Regions from separate parts of the Homo sapiens genome. Here all the other regions are linked to region 3. Evidence: promoter capture Hi-C in 16 types of primary human blood cells and fetal thymus (Javierre and others, 2016). All regions are on one chromosome and are shown on one strand. Each heading gives the region's core, a stretch centred on a gene start or on the middle of the fragment in contact. The rest is flanking DNA. Distances are from core to core; before and after follow the strand shown. Region 1 overlaps SLC22A23 (solute carrier family 22 member 23). Region 2 overlaps RIPK1 (receptor interacting serine/threonine kinase 1). Region 3 holds the start of PRP4K (pre-mRNA processing factor kinase PRP4K). Region 4 overlaps SLC22A23 (solute carrier family 22 member 23). Region 5 has its middle 1.6 kb from the start of RIPK1.

Region 1 (2,880 bases), core at 9-2,508, 670 kb after region 3:
ATTTGCATTTTTTAAGTAATAATGCTGATTTTTCTGTTAGAAACTGAAGGATAACTAAAACATGCTGGCTCTGACAACCAGTTTGACGAATGGATCAGTTAATCCAGCCTGCAGCTGTCAAAGCTTCAGAGCAGGCATGGGCCAAGTTTTCTGCAAAGGGCCAGAACATGAATATTCTGGGCTGTGCAGGCCATACGGTCTCTGCCCCACCTACTACTCCCTGCTACTGCAACAGCAGCCATGGACAATCTGGAGGTGAATGAGTGTGACCGCATTCCACAAAAGCCGCATTTGTCGACACTAAAATTTCAATTTCACATAAACTTCACACAAGAGATATTATTCATCTTTTGGTTGTCTTGAACCATTTAAAAATGTCCATTCTTAGGGACGAGCTGAATAAAATCAGGCAGTGCATTGTACAAAAACAGCAGCCTTCAGCAGGATTTGGCCCGAGGGTCATAGTTTTCCAACCCTACTTTAGAGCAGCTTTTAAAACTGTAGTTTATGACACATTAGGGCTTGGGTTAAGGGTTATAGAATCCATCGGGTGGGTCCTGCCCAGCATTTTTAAAGAAAAAAATAGAATTAAGTGCATCACACACAATAAGGGTTAAGTATCGTTTCATGAAAATTTGGGGTGTGTGTGTGCATGCATGCTGAGTCACTATGCTGTGCAGTACTGGGAAATAATTTTCTATCAACCATGGTCCTACTCATCCACCAGACTTTTATGTGCTTCAAAGGACACAAAGACCAAGAACCAAGGGACTGTGAATGTACTTAGCCCCCAAGAGGGGATGAAGGCGACCGTGATCATCTGCCTTCGTGTATCACAGGAATCAAGAGCCCTGGAAGAGGTGCTCTGTCCCAGGTCTGTGATCAGAGAGCGATGGGAGCAATAAGCCACCACCTTATCTTTCCTGAAGATATCAGGTTGCTTGAGGCACTGCCCACTTCATATGAATTTCCTGCTTTCATGTTAGGCTTATTTCTGAGTAGTTCAAATAATTCATCTTCTCCACTCTGCTCTTCCACCTCCTGAGATTCAGTGATATTTAAAGCACTTGGGTGGTTGAGTATTCAATATTCTTCACCAAACAGAAATACAATAGTGTGTGGGAAGAAGGGCCATGCATTTTAATCTGATGAAAACAGCTCATGCCAGCTGTGACGGTTAGCCTAACTGCAAACTAGGCTGTGAGGAGGTGGAGGAGGAAGGAAGGTATATTTTGGTACTATAATAATTCAGGGCCTGCAGGGGATGCCCTATGGTTGAACCACATTCTAGAGAGGGTTCCAGAAACTCCAGGGGCCACAGGGCTTGCCTCGGGGTTGGCATTGGGATTTGGTGGTAGGAGTCAATTTGGCCGAAGAGTCCTCGGGTAGGTGGGATAGGGAGAGAGAGGCTGCCTCTTAGGTCCCCAGGAAGTGGGGAGGAAGAAAGACAGGTAGGAGACAGAAAGGTGTTTGGGGCTCTGACTGCCCAGTCCGAAGCCCCAGCTCAGTGCTGAGCTGCTTGGTGGCTAGGGCAGGCTTCCTCGAGGGTTCTGCAGGCTTTGGCAGGGAGGAACGAAGAGCAGGGAGAAGTGCCCCGCGGCCAGTTGGCCCCAGTGGGAAGCACCCCATCACCCAGCTGTTTGCAGAAAAGGCAGCTGTCCTTGAGGGCAGAAGCAGAGGAGCATCCCCCTTCCTTGTCATCCTGCTCAGGGGAGGCTTTGTGGCTTTCTGGTTTACCCAGAGGGAGACACTGTTTACTCTTCTGAAGGGGTTATGAAAGATGACTATTTCCAGAGTGGTGATGAACGCTGGAGAGACAGTTGGAAGGGAAGACAGTACCAGTTGACTCTCCTCTGAGGCAAAGCCTCTAAATTCCTAAGCCCTCCCTGCCCTGGCTCTGGGTCATGGGGACCCGGTCCGTTGGCTGGGAAGGGTTTGTCTCCTTGTGACCCAGGATGCTTGCTGTAAGATTTGGTGACTTTCTGCAGCTGGAAGGTTTGAAGCTCTGTTTTCCTTGGACAGTTTGCTAGTTGGATCTTGGGTTGAATGAGCAGCCGCTAGGGGTGAAGTATCTGGCCTCAGGTGTTGGGTGGGTCAGGTCCTAGGAGTTGGGAAGGGCACCACACCCAGCTCCGTGCCGGGAATGTGGTGGATGCTCGTGTGATTGCCAGGCTAGTAAGTGCCGAATGGTGGGCTGCATTTTTCCATCAACAGGGCCGGATTCTATAGTGTGCACTCACTTAGGTGCAGATGGGACTCAGTAAGAAGACAGTGGCCTTGCTAAATAAAGAAACTGAGAGCAAGATAAACACAATGCAGACTGCTATTGTCACTCTGAGCAGATGGCCACAAGTCACCCAAAGCTCAGGTAAGAAGAGAAAACAGAAGCTTGTAGAAAAATACAGCTCCTGCTCCAGGAAAGATGGCGCCTAGGCTTTGGTTCAGAGGCCAGACCCCTCCGTTGTAGTAGCTGTTCCAGGCCATGGTCAGAAACCAATTCCCTTCCTCACTTCCCCACATCCCCACATCCTTCCGTCCCCAAGCATGGAATCGTGGAACGTGCAGGCACCAAGGATTAGAGGGTTGGGACTGAAGAAAACAAAAAGAATGTCTCTTTCCTCCTGGAGCCTTCCAGAGCAGGAGACACACAGCATGCAGGTAACTAGATAAGTGTGTCCCCCACAGCTGGGACAGGTGCCATGAAGGAGAAGCCTGCAGTGAGATAAGAGAGCCAGTGAGGCCTGAGTTAGATGAAGGAGTGGAGAGCAAAAGCCTCCATGATGACACATCACCACGCAGAGACAGGAGGGCGTCCAGGCTGGGGCAACAGCCGCACACCTCCCGATGCTGGGCAGAGCTTCATCTTTAGCAGTAGAAGGA
Region 2 (2,749 bases), core at 97-2,596, 910 kb after region 3:
CATTAAATATTGGTTTAGGGTCTGCCTTCTGTCCACTAGGATTTAAACTGTGTGAGGGAAGGGACTCAGGCTGTTTGTTCAGTTATAGCTCCAGTGCCTGGAGAACTGCACGTCACAAAGTGGGAAGAGTTTTGGAATTTTTTTTTTTTTTTTTTTTTTTTTGCGACAGTCTCGCTCTGTCACCCAGGCTGGAGTGCAGTGGTGCAATCTCGGCTTACTGCAACCTCTGCCTCCCGGGTTCAAGTGATTCTCCTGCCTCACCCTCCCAAGTAGCTGGGATTACAGGCGCACGCCACTATGCCCAGCTTTTTTTTTTTTTTTTTTGTATTTTTAGTAGAGACGGGGTTTCACCGTGTTAGCCAGGATGGTCTCAATCTCCTGACCTCGTGATCTTCCCACCTCGGCCTCCCAAAGTGCTGGAATTACAGGCGTGAGCCACTGTGCCCAGCCAGTGGAATTTTTTTTTTTTTTTCGAGACACAATCTCACTCTGTTGCCCAGGCTGGAGTGCAGTGGCATGATCTCAGCTCACTGCAACGTCTGTCTCCAGGGTTCAAGTGATTCTCCTGCCTCAGCCTCCCTAGTAGCTGGGGCTAAAGGCATGCGCCACCACGCCTGGCTAATTTTTGTATTATTTAGTAGAGACAGGGTTTTACCATGTTAGCCAGGCTGGTCTCGAACTCCTGGCCTCAAGTGATCCACTCACCTCAGCCTCCCAAAGTGCTGAGATTACAGGCATAAGCCACCACACCTGGCCAACCATGGCCCCAGCTGAAATTTTTATTGACTTAATCATGAATGAATAAAATGATATGGCAATACTAATAAAAAATTTTATCCCCAACATGAAGGAAACAAAAGGACATTCTGCTCATAGGATTATACATGACTTGGATACTGCTTAATGTCTAATCCAATATTTTGCATTCTACAGATCTTATCATAAAACCTATGGAAGAAATCGAGGATGTTTGCATAGGACGTTTTTGGAGAATTTGGCCTTTTGAAAGAAAATGTAACTAAGCTCTGTGGTTCTGAAAGCTTCCTCTACCTGAGATGATTTCAAGATCTCCAGGACACCTGTGGGTATCATTGGTAGATGCTGTTCAGGTAGTTAAGGTGATGTTGGTGAGTATTATTTGATAAAAATGCTGGATATTACATTAACTCACTTCCATTCTAGACTGCCAGTAACTACTATCACCTACCTTTTACTTCACCTGATAGAGATATGGGAGTTAAAAGAAAATTTTTCATCACTAATGGTAGTCTTTGAGCTATATAAGGTCAGAAACAAAAATATCCAAGACTGATTTCTTACCTTCAAAAAGTAGCAAGCAAGGTAAAAGCAAATAAGCAGATAACTTCCCATTTATCAGAGATTGGGTGAAATAGGACTACTATGCACTCCAGGTTAGAGTCAAAGATGCCTGCCAGTCACAAGGACCTGTAACCCGATGCTTGCGGGCATCTGTGATGAATCCTAGCCCCAGATGAAATACTCCCAGACCAAGTGGTTTGGCAGGGTCCATTCCACAGGGGCAATTTGCATCTGGCAGCTGATGATGCCCTCTGTCCCCATTATAACCCACAATCTATAATAGAGCTGCTTGGTTGCTGTATTTTCTGAAAAATAAAAAAAGACAAGCTTGTGACTATCGAAGACCCATTTACCTGTTGGTGGCAAGGAGCTGAATGGCATGGTGGGTGTATTTCCTAGATAGTTGGTCTCAGGCACTGGGATATTATGCAGACTAGGCATATGACTTGGAATTGGCCTGTACCAAACTCTGGGACCTGCTGTTCCTGGATCCAGTGGTCTTGTTCCAAAGCCATGTGAGCTATATAATCCATTGTTCTGATACAGTACTTGAGGTTGGCTGGTGAGCCCTGAGGGCTGGTGCACTGCATTACCATGACTGGCTGCACTGGAATAAGCAGTGCCTTTTCCCTCTGTATTCTGAAAATTCTCGTAAGGTCTTTGCTGTGCAAAAGGGTCATGGGAGACCCTGCGTCTCCTTTCCTCCTCTCTGTTGTAAGCCACATTCTGTCTGGGCTGCTGTTTCGTCTGCCTGTCCATGCGGCTGCCATAAAGATGGTAGTTGGCTTCGTCTTGGAGTTTACTCTGCAGGCTGGGCTCATTCTCTTCTTGTGGGTGCTCCAGGGAAGGAGCAAACCAGGACTCCTCCACAGGACCCATCCCAAGTCCCTGGGAACTGTGCAGTGAACCAGGCTGTTCTGTGGCTGAGAAGAAATGATCAACATTAGAATGGGTGTCATGAAACATTAAAAAGTAAAATAAAATCTGAGCGCCGTCATGAATCTGTATCTCAAAGTAACACACAGAAAACAAGTACGAGACCAGTCCAAAGCATTTAGGAGATGGTCCTCTTCCCACAAGCTTTACAAATAATAATAGGAGCTCCTCGCTGGCAGTAAGAGAGTACTAGGAAAATTATAGCAAGCAAGAGAAAAGCGGCTGTTGCAGGGATGATCAAGGAAAAAAGGGACTTGGTTTGGAGCAGAGAAGGTGGTTGTCTCCTTGGAGCAATTCAGGTGGAAAATAAGATCTGTGGCTGGGTGCGGTGGCTCACGCCTGTAATCCTAGCACGTTGGGAGGCTGAGGCGGACGGATCACCTGAGGTCAGGAGTTCGAGACCAGCCTGGCCAACATGGCGAAACCCCATCTCTACTGAAAATACAAAAATTAGCCGGGCATGGTGGTGCATGCCTGTAATCCCTGCTGCTTG
Region 3 (2,700 bases), core at 129-2,628:
CTTAATTAAAAATTCCGTTTCTCTGCCTAGCTGAGTAATGCAGATGATTGAGGAGCCCAAAACTGGATGCACAGCAATTAAGTGTCAGGTTGTCTGGTGGCAAAGATTTCTTCTATCGCTCAGTCACAAGTTGCTGGGAGACTATACCTCTTTCTAAGATGGCTGGAAACAGATCAGACAGTGCAGATGCAAAAAAAAACAAAAAACAAAACAAAAAAAAAAAACGGTCGCTATAGGAACATTGCCGTAAAATCCATTCTCTCTGTTAAGGTTCTTGTTTGAGTTTTCCTAACATAGACATGAACAGCAAAATACTGCTTTAAGTTAACCAATGGTTAACCTTTGCAGCATACACTCGTATTTTTTTTTTTTTCATTTTTCATTTGGCCGCATGGATTCTTAATGTTAGCTTAATTATAGACATAAAGTGGTTTGGCAGTAGCTAGCAATTCCCACTACTCCTTCCACTCGTCCTCCTAAAGAAGGGTTATAAACTCAGGCAAAAAAAAAAAAAAAAAAAAAATGCCAGGCCTCAAAACCAAAGACTCTATCTTACTTTGCCTCAAGTTTGCAAGTTGGTAAAAAAGCTGCCGGTAGGCACTCAAAACAAAACAAAACAATACTGGGTGACTGCTGGACTAAAGAGTACAAGGTGACGAGATCAAGTATCCCGCTAGCCACAGACTAGCTCTGGGATGGCCAGAGAGTGTGACCCCAGCACCTCCGCTCTCTGCTTTCAGGTCCTAAACTGACACCAGTAAAAGGACGACTGGGGGTACCGCATGAGGAAGAAAAGACTTAGGGCTTGGCCCGCCTGCTGCCACTGACCCTCGTGTCCCCAACACAGATGCCGCTAAGAGCTGCGGCCAGGGAGCTCAGATGGGTCCCCAAAAGAGGCATAGGAAAGCGCGACCTCACTGCCGCGGCAGCCGCCACGCGCACCGGACCTGTAGAGGCCGCTCGCGCCTACGCCTCCCGGGGCAACGACGCGCGGCAGGCCGCGGCCGCCTTCACCCCAGCAGCCACGGCCTCTGGGAGAAGGAAGCTCGAAGGCCGCCTGCTCCCCATGCCTCCCACCCCACAACGAATCGCGCCGGAAAAAGCAAAGTTTGACTCTCGCCGTTAGGCCCGAACTTTCCCGCCACCCCGTGCAGCTCCCACTCGGCAGTCCCCGGGCTCCAGCTTCTGGCCCACTCACAGAGACTACTTACTCTGGCTGCTCCCGTAGCGACTGGGTCTCCGCGGCGGCCATCTTGAACTTCCTGACTCCTCGGCGGCGGTGGCGGCGGCTCCCGGACGGTGGAGGGTAGGGGAAGTGGAGGAAGAAGGAAAAGAGCTGCCGCGCATGTGCCGACCGTGTAGGGAAGAGCTGGGTTCTGAGTCCGCGCTAAGAATCCGGATATAAAACCCCACGTCCCGGGACTAGCGCAGGGCGTAGTGTCGCAGCTTCCGGGAGCATGGTGGGCGGTGCTGCTAAGGATTGAGGTCGAGTGTCAAGCTTGAGCTCTTCAGTCAATGCTAGAAATGGACGTTTAGTTATTGAATCCCGCTAACGAGGGGAGCCAACAAGAGAGGGATGTCGGCATCGGGTGTGCGGTTCCAAGAACTGATTGGCTGTGGAGATTAGAAGTTAGGTGAAAATTCTCTTAAACTCGGGCAAACGAATTGATGATTTTTCCCCTGGTCGGTGTTAGAGACACAGTAAATGCTTAACCATCTCGCTAGACAGCTCAACTGAAGTGGCATTAACTTCCCGGGAAAGTGTGTAGAAAGGCATTTTTAAATACTGTAAACTCGAACGTAAATATCTTTTAATGTGGAACTGTTACTACATTTAACACTGAACATCTTTTCAACTTTTACATAGTTCAAGGGTGACACGATTCAGTTCGTTATTTCCGTAATTGGAACGTGTAATGTTTTTTGGCCCAAGTTGCGTTATGTGATTTTGTTTTCTTCTATAACGACTCTACAGTAATGGGGTAGAATGGAATATTGTGGGGAAAACATTTACTGGCTCTTGGAGAACTCTCAAAACCAATTAGGTTCTTTAATTCCTCTTTAAAAAAATATTTCTCGCCTGGCGCTGTGGCTCACCCCTGTAATCCCAGCACCTTGGGAGGCCGAGGCGGGCGGATCACCTGAGGCCAGGATTTGGAGACCAGCCTGGCCAACATGGTGAAACCCCGTCTCTATTAAAAATACAAAAAATTAGCTGGGCGTGGTGGCGCTCGCCTATAATCCCAGCTACTCCGGAGGCTGAGGCAGGAGAATCGCTTGAACCCGAGAGGCGGAGTTTGCACTGAGATCACGCCACTGCACTCCAGCCTGGGCGACAGAGCAAGATTCCATCTCAAAAAAAAAAAAAAAATTATCCATACTTTGGAACCTGGAAGCAGCGTGACGATCACTTTCATTCTTGTAATCATCTGAGTTTGCCTTTGTCCTAGAAAATTGAGTTCGGAATCTCCAGACTCCATACATATCTCTTGATTTCCAGGGGAGAAGGGTTTTAAATGTTCTTACAAAATGTCTCTTGTTGCCTGAATTCCAAACGTTTTGAAATGTTAGGGCCGGGCGCGGTGGCTCACGCCTGCAATCCTCTAGCACTTTGGGAGGCCGAGGCGGGCGGATTGCCTGAACTCAAGAGTTCGAGTCCAGCCTGGCCAACATAGCGAAACTCCGTCTCTGCTAAAAATA
Region 4 (2,852 bases), core at 28-2,527, 750 kb after region 3:
CATTTTGAGTTCATTTTTTTACATGATGTGAAGGGTCCAACATCATTCTTTTGCACATGAATATCCTGTTGTCCCAGCACCACCTGTTGAAAAAACTATCCCTTCCCCCTCACTGGATTTGCCTCCATCTACAGTCAGTTGACCATAAATGTGAAGGTTAGTTTCTGAACTCCCAGTTCTGTTCCATTGATCTATTGATATATACACCAACACCACACTGCCTTAAGCCGTATGGCTTTATAGTTTTGAAACTGGGAAGGCAAGCCTTCTTTGTTCTTTTCCAAAATTGTTTTTGACTACTCTGAGTCTTTTGCATTTCCATATAAATTTTAGAATTGGCTGTTTTCTGAAAAAAAAAAAAAGTCACCTGGAATTTTGATAGGGATTATGTGGAATGTATAGATCAATTTGGGAAAAATTACCATCTTTATAATATTTAGTCTTCTAATTCATGAACATGGAATGTCACTCCATTTATTTTTATCTTTTAATTTTCAGCAATGTTTTATCTTTTTCAGCATACAAGTCTTGCATTCCTTTGTTATTTATTTCTAAACATTTTATTCATTGGATGTTATTGTGAATGGCATTTTCATTTTTGGGTGTTGCTAGCACGTAGACATATAATTGACTTTTGTATGTTGATCTTTTATCTTGTGACCTTGTAGGACAGTCTTTTGGTGAGTTAGGAGCTACCTATAGTGCCAACCAAGAGAACCACAGACTAGTCAAGAGCTGGAGTTATCTACCTGCCTCCTACCTGTTGCAGGGACCTCCCTTTCAGCCCACTCAGCCTCAGCAGTTCAAAGGATACAGCCCTCTTCACTTCAAGGGGGTGCCTAACGAGCAGCCCATTAGAAAGCTTCCCCAAACCAAAGGACCAGTCTACCTGCTGCTGTGGAGCGAGGCACACAACTCCACTCCCTCTTCCTTGAGACAAGGCCACCTCTGCCTACCTCCTTCAATGAGGCCCCAGAACTGGGGACCAGGCAGCCCTCTCTAGCCTGGCCTGACACCTGAGCGCCACGGTCCCACTGCAGCCTGGTACAGCACTGCTTTCTCAGGGGCCACAGAACACCTTTGTCCCAGTAATGTGTTTTTAGGTCAAAGTGGAGAGGTTTGAGGGATAGGGGTTCTGTAAGTTTTGCGTATCTACTAATCCCTGGGACTCTTGGCTGCTCCCGTACAAGGCAGGGAGTGGAAATCAATGGCTTGCCTTCTGGACTTTGGTTATCCTGAGCTCAGAGCTGCAGTGAGTTCCTCTCTGTCAGTGCACAGCTTCATTTGGGGGACCCTTCAGGCACAATCCTCAGAGATGGGACCGTTTCCAATGGTGGTATGTGAGCAATTTCAGGAGACACGTGGGCCATCAACTCACAGTGAGGAAACTACTCTTTTAAAGTATCTTGCAGTCTCTCCAGTTATGACAAAGAGAAAGTCTCTGTTCGTGTTGGTATGTCCTTAGTACCCTCTTTAACCCTTGGTAATCCCCCAGGCCTTCAGGAAATGGCATAATTTCAATCCCTTTTGTTTTTCCTTGTATACTACTTATGGCAAGTAATATCAGCTTCCCATTTACAGTAGTATTATATAAGGCTGCCTTTCAAAATAAAGTTCTCATGGTCCCCAGCCCTGAAAAAACAATAAAAATAGGAAACATTAAAGAAAAAGATAAATTAAGTAAAAGCTTTTGATTTGATGAGGAAAAACAGTCACTGCCGTAGAGTGGCCTTGTACAGACACAGCCAGGGTGCTGGTGACATGGGACGTGTGAGGTCGGGGTATACTGGGCAGTGCCCAGGGCAGCAGGGCCCCTGCAGAGGTGGCTTCCTGGTCCACCCCGAGCTTTCCCGGGATCCAGCCCGCTAGCCCACAGCAGCAATCCCTGTGCTTCCCTCCCCCTGCAGGTGTGGCGGGCTGGGGCTGGTGCTGGCCAGCGCGGGCTTCGGCATGCTGACGGCACCCATCATCGAGCTGCACAACCAGAAAGGCTACTTCCTGCACCACATCATCTTTGCCTGCTGCACGCTCATCTGCATCATCTGCATCCTCCTGCTGCCCGAGAGCAGGGACCAGAACCTGCCTGAGAACATTTCTAACGGGGAGCACTACACGCGCCAGCCGCTGCTGCCGCACAAGAAGGGGGAGCAGCCACTGCTGCTCACCAACGCCGAGCTCAAGGACTACTCGGGCCTCCACGATGCCGCAGCCGCGGGTGACACACTGCCCGAGGGTGCCACGGCCAACGGCATGAAGGCCATGTAGCCCGGCCTGCGGAACCCGGGGCTCCAGGGTCTGGGGCAGCTTGGGCACAGGTTTACAGACCAGGGACCGAACACGCAGCCAGGGGTGGGAAAGCTGCCTCAGCCAAGCTGAGCCTCTCAACTGGTGTGGGGAAATCCTGTCTTTCCAAAAGTCCAAGGAGCGCGGGTCGGAGGAGACAAACTCTTTGGAAATAACCCTTTCAAGACTTTCTTTTCTGCCGTTAAATGTGTGTATTTATTTTGGTCATTTTTACGAGAAGCACTTTATTCCCTCTCCCTCTCACTGATCACAAATGGAATCACCTCCCTGGGCAGCGAGACGCAGTTGCTCTGGGAAGATGCCACAGTGACCAGGGCCATGGCCGGTCCCTCTGGGGAGATGGGACACGGCTCCTGGCAGCACCCAGGAGCCCCCCAGGCTGCCTGCCTGCGTGCAGAGGCAGGAGAGGACCGTGGAGCGTTTCCGGGACTGCATTTTAGACGGAGTGAAATGTACATGAATTTGGCTTTTGCTAGAGTCTGTGTATGGTTTTTTAAGGTCCTTTTTCCCTTTCTGTTTGTAAGGTAAGAGCTTCTGTTCGTGTGCAG
Region 5 (2,700 bases), core at 132-2,631, 950 kb after region 3:
TCCGGAGGATTCAGAGCTCTGCGGGTTAGCATAGGCAAGTTAGCATTCCTCTACCTTCATCTGTAAAGTGGGGCTGTTGAGGAGGAAATGTGATTATTTTGCAGCCCTTTAAAATGGTAATTGTGAAGTCTCGAGCAAAGTTGGAACTGCATGCTATTCATGTATATTAAAAATCAAATAATAAAATTATATGCACATCAGGCCGGGCGCGGTTGTTCACGCCTGTAATCCCAGCACTTTGGGAAGCCAAGGCGGGCGGATCACTTGAGGTCAGCAGTTCGAGACCAGCCTGGCCAACATGGTGAAACCCCATCTCTACTAAAAAATACAAAAATCAACTGGGCGTGGTGGCGGGCACCAGCAATCCCAGCTACTCGGGAGGCTGAGGCAGGAGAATCCCTTGAACCTGGGAGGTGGAGATTGTAGTGAGCCGAGATCGCGCCACTGCACTCCAGCCTGGGTGACAAGAGCAAGATTCCGTCTCAAAAGGAAAAAAAAAAAAAGCACAACAGGATTACATACTGTGAAAAGATATGTATGTCAAGAGAACTAGCCACGTTCACAACACGAGCCACAGACTGGGAGAAAATATTTGCAAAAGACATATCTGATAAAGCACTGTGACCCAAAATATACCAAAAAAAACCCTCTTAAAATGCAACAATATGAAAATGTACAACTTGATTAAAGGCGGGCAAAAGCTCTGAACATACACCTCACCATATGTATATGCATATGAAAAGATGCTCAACATCATGTCATTAAAGAATTGCAATTTAAAAAAACAAATACTATTACACATTTATTAGAATGGCTAAAATTCAGAACACTGACAACAACAAATGTTGATGAGGATCTGGAGCACAAGGAACTCCCATACATTCCTAGTGGGAATGCCTAATGTTAGAGTCTGGAAGACATTTTGGCAATTTCTTAACCAAGCTCTTCTTACCATAAGATGAAGCAACTCCACACCTTGGTATTTACCCAAACGAGTTGAAAGCTTATGCCCATACAAACACCTGTACAAGAATGTCTATAGCAGCTTTATTCATAATTGCCAAAACTTGAGGGCATCCAAGATATCACTTAATGGGTGGACAGATAAGCTGTGGTACATCTATACAATGGAATATTAAGTGCTAAAAAGAAATGAGCTCTGAAGCCACAAAAAAAAAAAAAAAAAAAAAAATCCTGGAGCAATCCTAAATGTATAAATCTAAGTGAAAGAAGCCAATCTGAGAAGACTACATAATGCATGATTCCAACTATGTGACATTCTGGAAAAGGAAAAACTACGGAGATAGTAAAAAAGATCAGCGGCTGCCAGGGATTTGCAGGGAAGGAGGGATGGATAGGTGAGGCACAAGGGATTTTTAGGGCAGTGGAGTCTGACGTTACAGGGTTGGGTACATCTCTATACATTTGTCAAATGTATCTTGAATATACACAAAGAGCAAAACCTAACAAACTCCGGACTTTGGCTGATAATGTATATGTTTTATCCATATTGGTTCATTTTTGTAACCATGAATCTATGTTGGTTTATCAGGTGTGACAAATATTCCACAGTAATGCAGGATGTTGATGGTAGGGGAGGCTGTACAGTCCAGGATGTTTGTGGAAGGGGATATTTTCTTTCTGCTTAGTTTTGCTGTAAACCAAAACAGCTCTAAAACAAAGTCTATTCATTATTTTTTAAAAGATGTACACATATCAAAAAAGACGAAAGGCAGAGCTATTCACTCAGCAAAGCTTTCTATCTACTGTATGCCAAGCAGGTACTAGATACAAGAGCATCTGGTGATAGATACAAGAAATACAAAAAGGAATTCATTCCTTCAGTAAATATTTACTGAGCACCTGTTCTAGGCACTGAAGACTCGGTTGTGAATTAAACACAAAAAATCTCTATGTTCTGGCCGTGTGTAGTGGCTCACACCTGTAATCCTAGCACTTTGGGAGGCCAAGTCGGGCGGATTGCCTGAGCTCAGGGGTTCCGGACCAGCCTGGCAAACATGATGAAACCTCGTCTCTACTAAAAATACAAAAATTAGCTGGGCGTGGTGGTGCATGCCTGTAGACCCAGCTACTCAGGAGGCTGAGGCGGGAGAATTGCTTGAACCCAGAAGGCGGAGGTTGCAGTGAGCCAAGATTGCTCCAGCCTGGGTGACAGAGCCAGACTCCGTCTCAAAAAACAATAAAAAATAAAAAACTCCACGTTCCATTCGTGGAGCTTGCATTCTAATGGGGAAGACAAAAAGTTATTGCCCATCACTGTCCTCTAGACATCATGTGACCTTGGGAGGTTGGAAATGCGTTGTTTTTGCTTCATTTTGTGTTCAGTGTTTTAACTCAGAAACATCTATTTGGGAGCTTTACTCATTACTCCCAGCAAAAGCCATGAGTGTAGACTGTGCATGAGATGAAGGAACTGGTCCTTGCAGAACACCAGAATGGAAAAGGCAAGAAACAGCCCAAGGTGAGGAAAGAAAACCAGCGAGAACAAAGAGCTGGTACTATCTCTGAAGCCCGTGGAGGCCAAAGTGTGAATATGAGGGGGTAGGTCTCTTGGCCACAGGCCTGAAACCAAATGAACCCCCACCCCCAGGCTGCAGTTCCCAGTGCACTTGGAAATGAGACCCTGACTCCTCCAGGTGAGCCTGGGAGACCTCCCTGACTCCTTTCCATCTCCCCCTC

The links. The method cuts DNA at HindIII sites, captures the fragments that hold promoters and counts their contacts. A CHiCAGO score of 5 or more calls a contact.
Region 1: a contact is called between a fragment that was not itself captured here and the fragment with the promoter of PRP4K in region 3, in 1 of 17 cell types (total CD4 T cells). The highest score is 5.3, in total CD4 T cells.
Region 2: a fragment that was not itself captured here is called in contact with the fragment with the promoter of PRP4K in region 3 in 1 of 17 cell types (total CD8 T cells); the score reaches 6.1 in total CD8 T cells.
Region 4: a contact is called between a fragment that was not itself captured here and the fragment with the promoter of PRP4K in region 3, in 3 of 17 cell types (total B cells, activated CD4 T cells and total CD4 T cells). The highest score is 6.8, in total B cells.
Region 5: a contact is called between a fragment that was not itself captured here and the fragment with the promoter of PRP4K in region 3, in 3 of 17 cell types (total CD8 T cells, fetal thymus and activated CD4 T cells). The highest score is 7.4, in total CD8 T cells.

What each region holds. Positions count from the first base shown.
Region 1 is chr6:3,347,875-3,350,754 of GRCh38, reverse strand. The region is part of intron 3 of SLC22A23 (solute carrier family 22 member 23); the gene reads left to right. Among named protein-coding and RNA genes, the nearest start is that of PSMG4, 90 kb to the right of the region's middle. RefSeq lists an enhancer at 1-1,592. The HindIII fragment of the contact is 2,265 bases long and covers 126-2,390 here.
Region 2 is chr6:3,104,976-3,107,724 of GRCh38, reverse strand. RIPK1 (receptor interacting serine/threonine kinase 1) reads right to left here. Exons shown (of 11, transcript NM_001354930.2): 9 at 1,674-2,243. It overlaps LOC107986556 (a long non-coding RNA gene), which reads left to right. Exons shown (of 4, transcript XR_001743928.3): 4 at 934-2,303. Among named protein-coding and RNA genes, the nearest start is that of BPHL, 12 kb to the left of the region's middle. The HindIII fragment of the contact is 607 bases long and covers 1,043-1,649 here.
Region 3 is chr6:4,019,978-4,022,677 of GRCh38, reverse strand. PRP4K (pre-mRNA processing factor kinase PRP4K) reads right to left here and starts at 1,378. Exons shown (of 15, transcript NM_003913.5): 1 at 1,212-1,378. The coding sequence starts at 1,252. It overlaps LOC124901245 (a long non-coding RNA gene), which reads left to right and starts at 1,511. Exons shown (of 2, transcript XR_007059415.1): 1 at 1,511-2,700. RefSeq lists enhancers at 136-195, 1,238-1,547. The HindIII fragment of the contact is 11,601 bases long and covers 1-1,500 here.
Region 4 is chr6:3,272,468-3,275,319 of GRCh38, reverse strand. It overlaps SLC22A23 (solute carrier family 22 member 23), which reads left to right. Exons shown (of 10, transcript NM_015482.2): 10 at 1,908-2,852. The coding sequence ends at 2,265. Among named protein-coding and RNA genes, the nearest start is that of PSMG4, 15 kb to the right of the region's middle. The HindIII fragment of the contact is 825 bases long and covers 865-1,689 here.
Region 5 is chr6:3,065,544-3,068,243 of GRCh38, reverse strand. It overlaps a transcript of RIPK1 not described here. Among named protein-coding and RNA genes, the nearest start is that of RIPK1, 1.6 kb to the left of the region's middle. The HindIII fragment of the contact is 752 bases long and covers 1,006-1,757 here.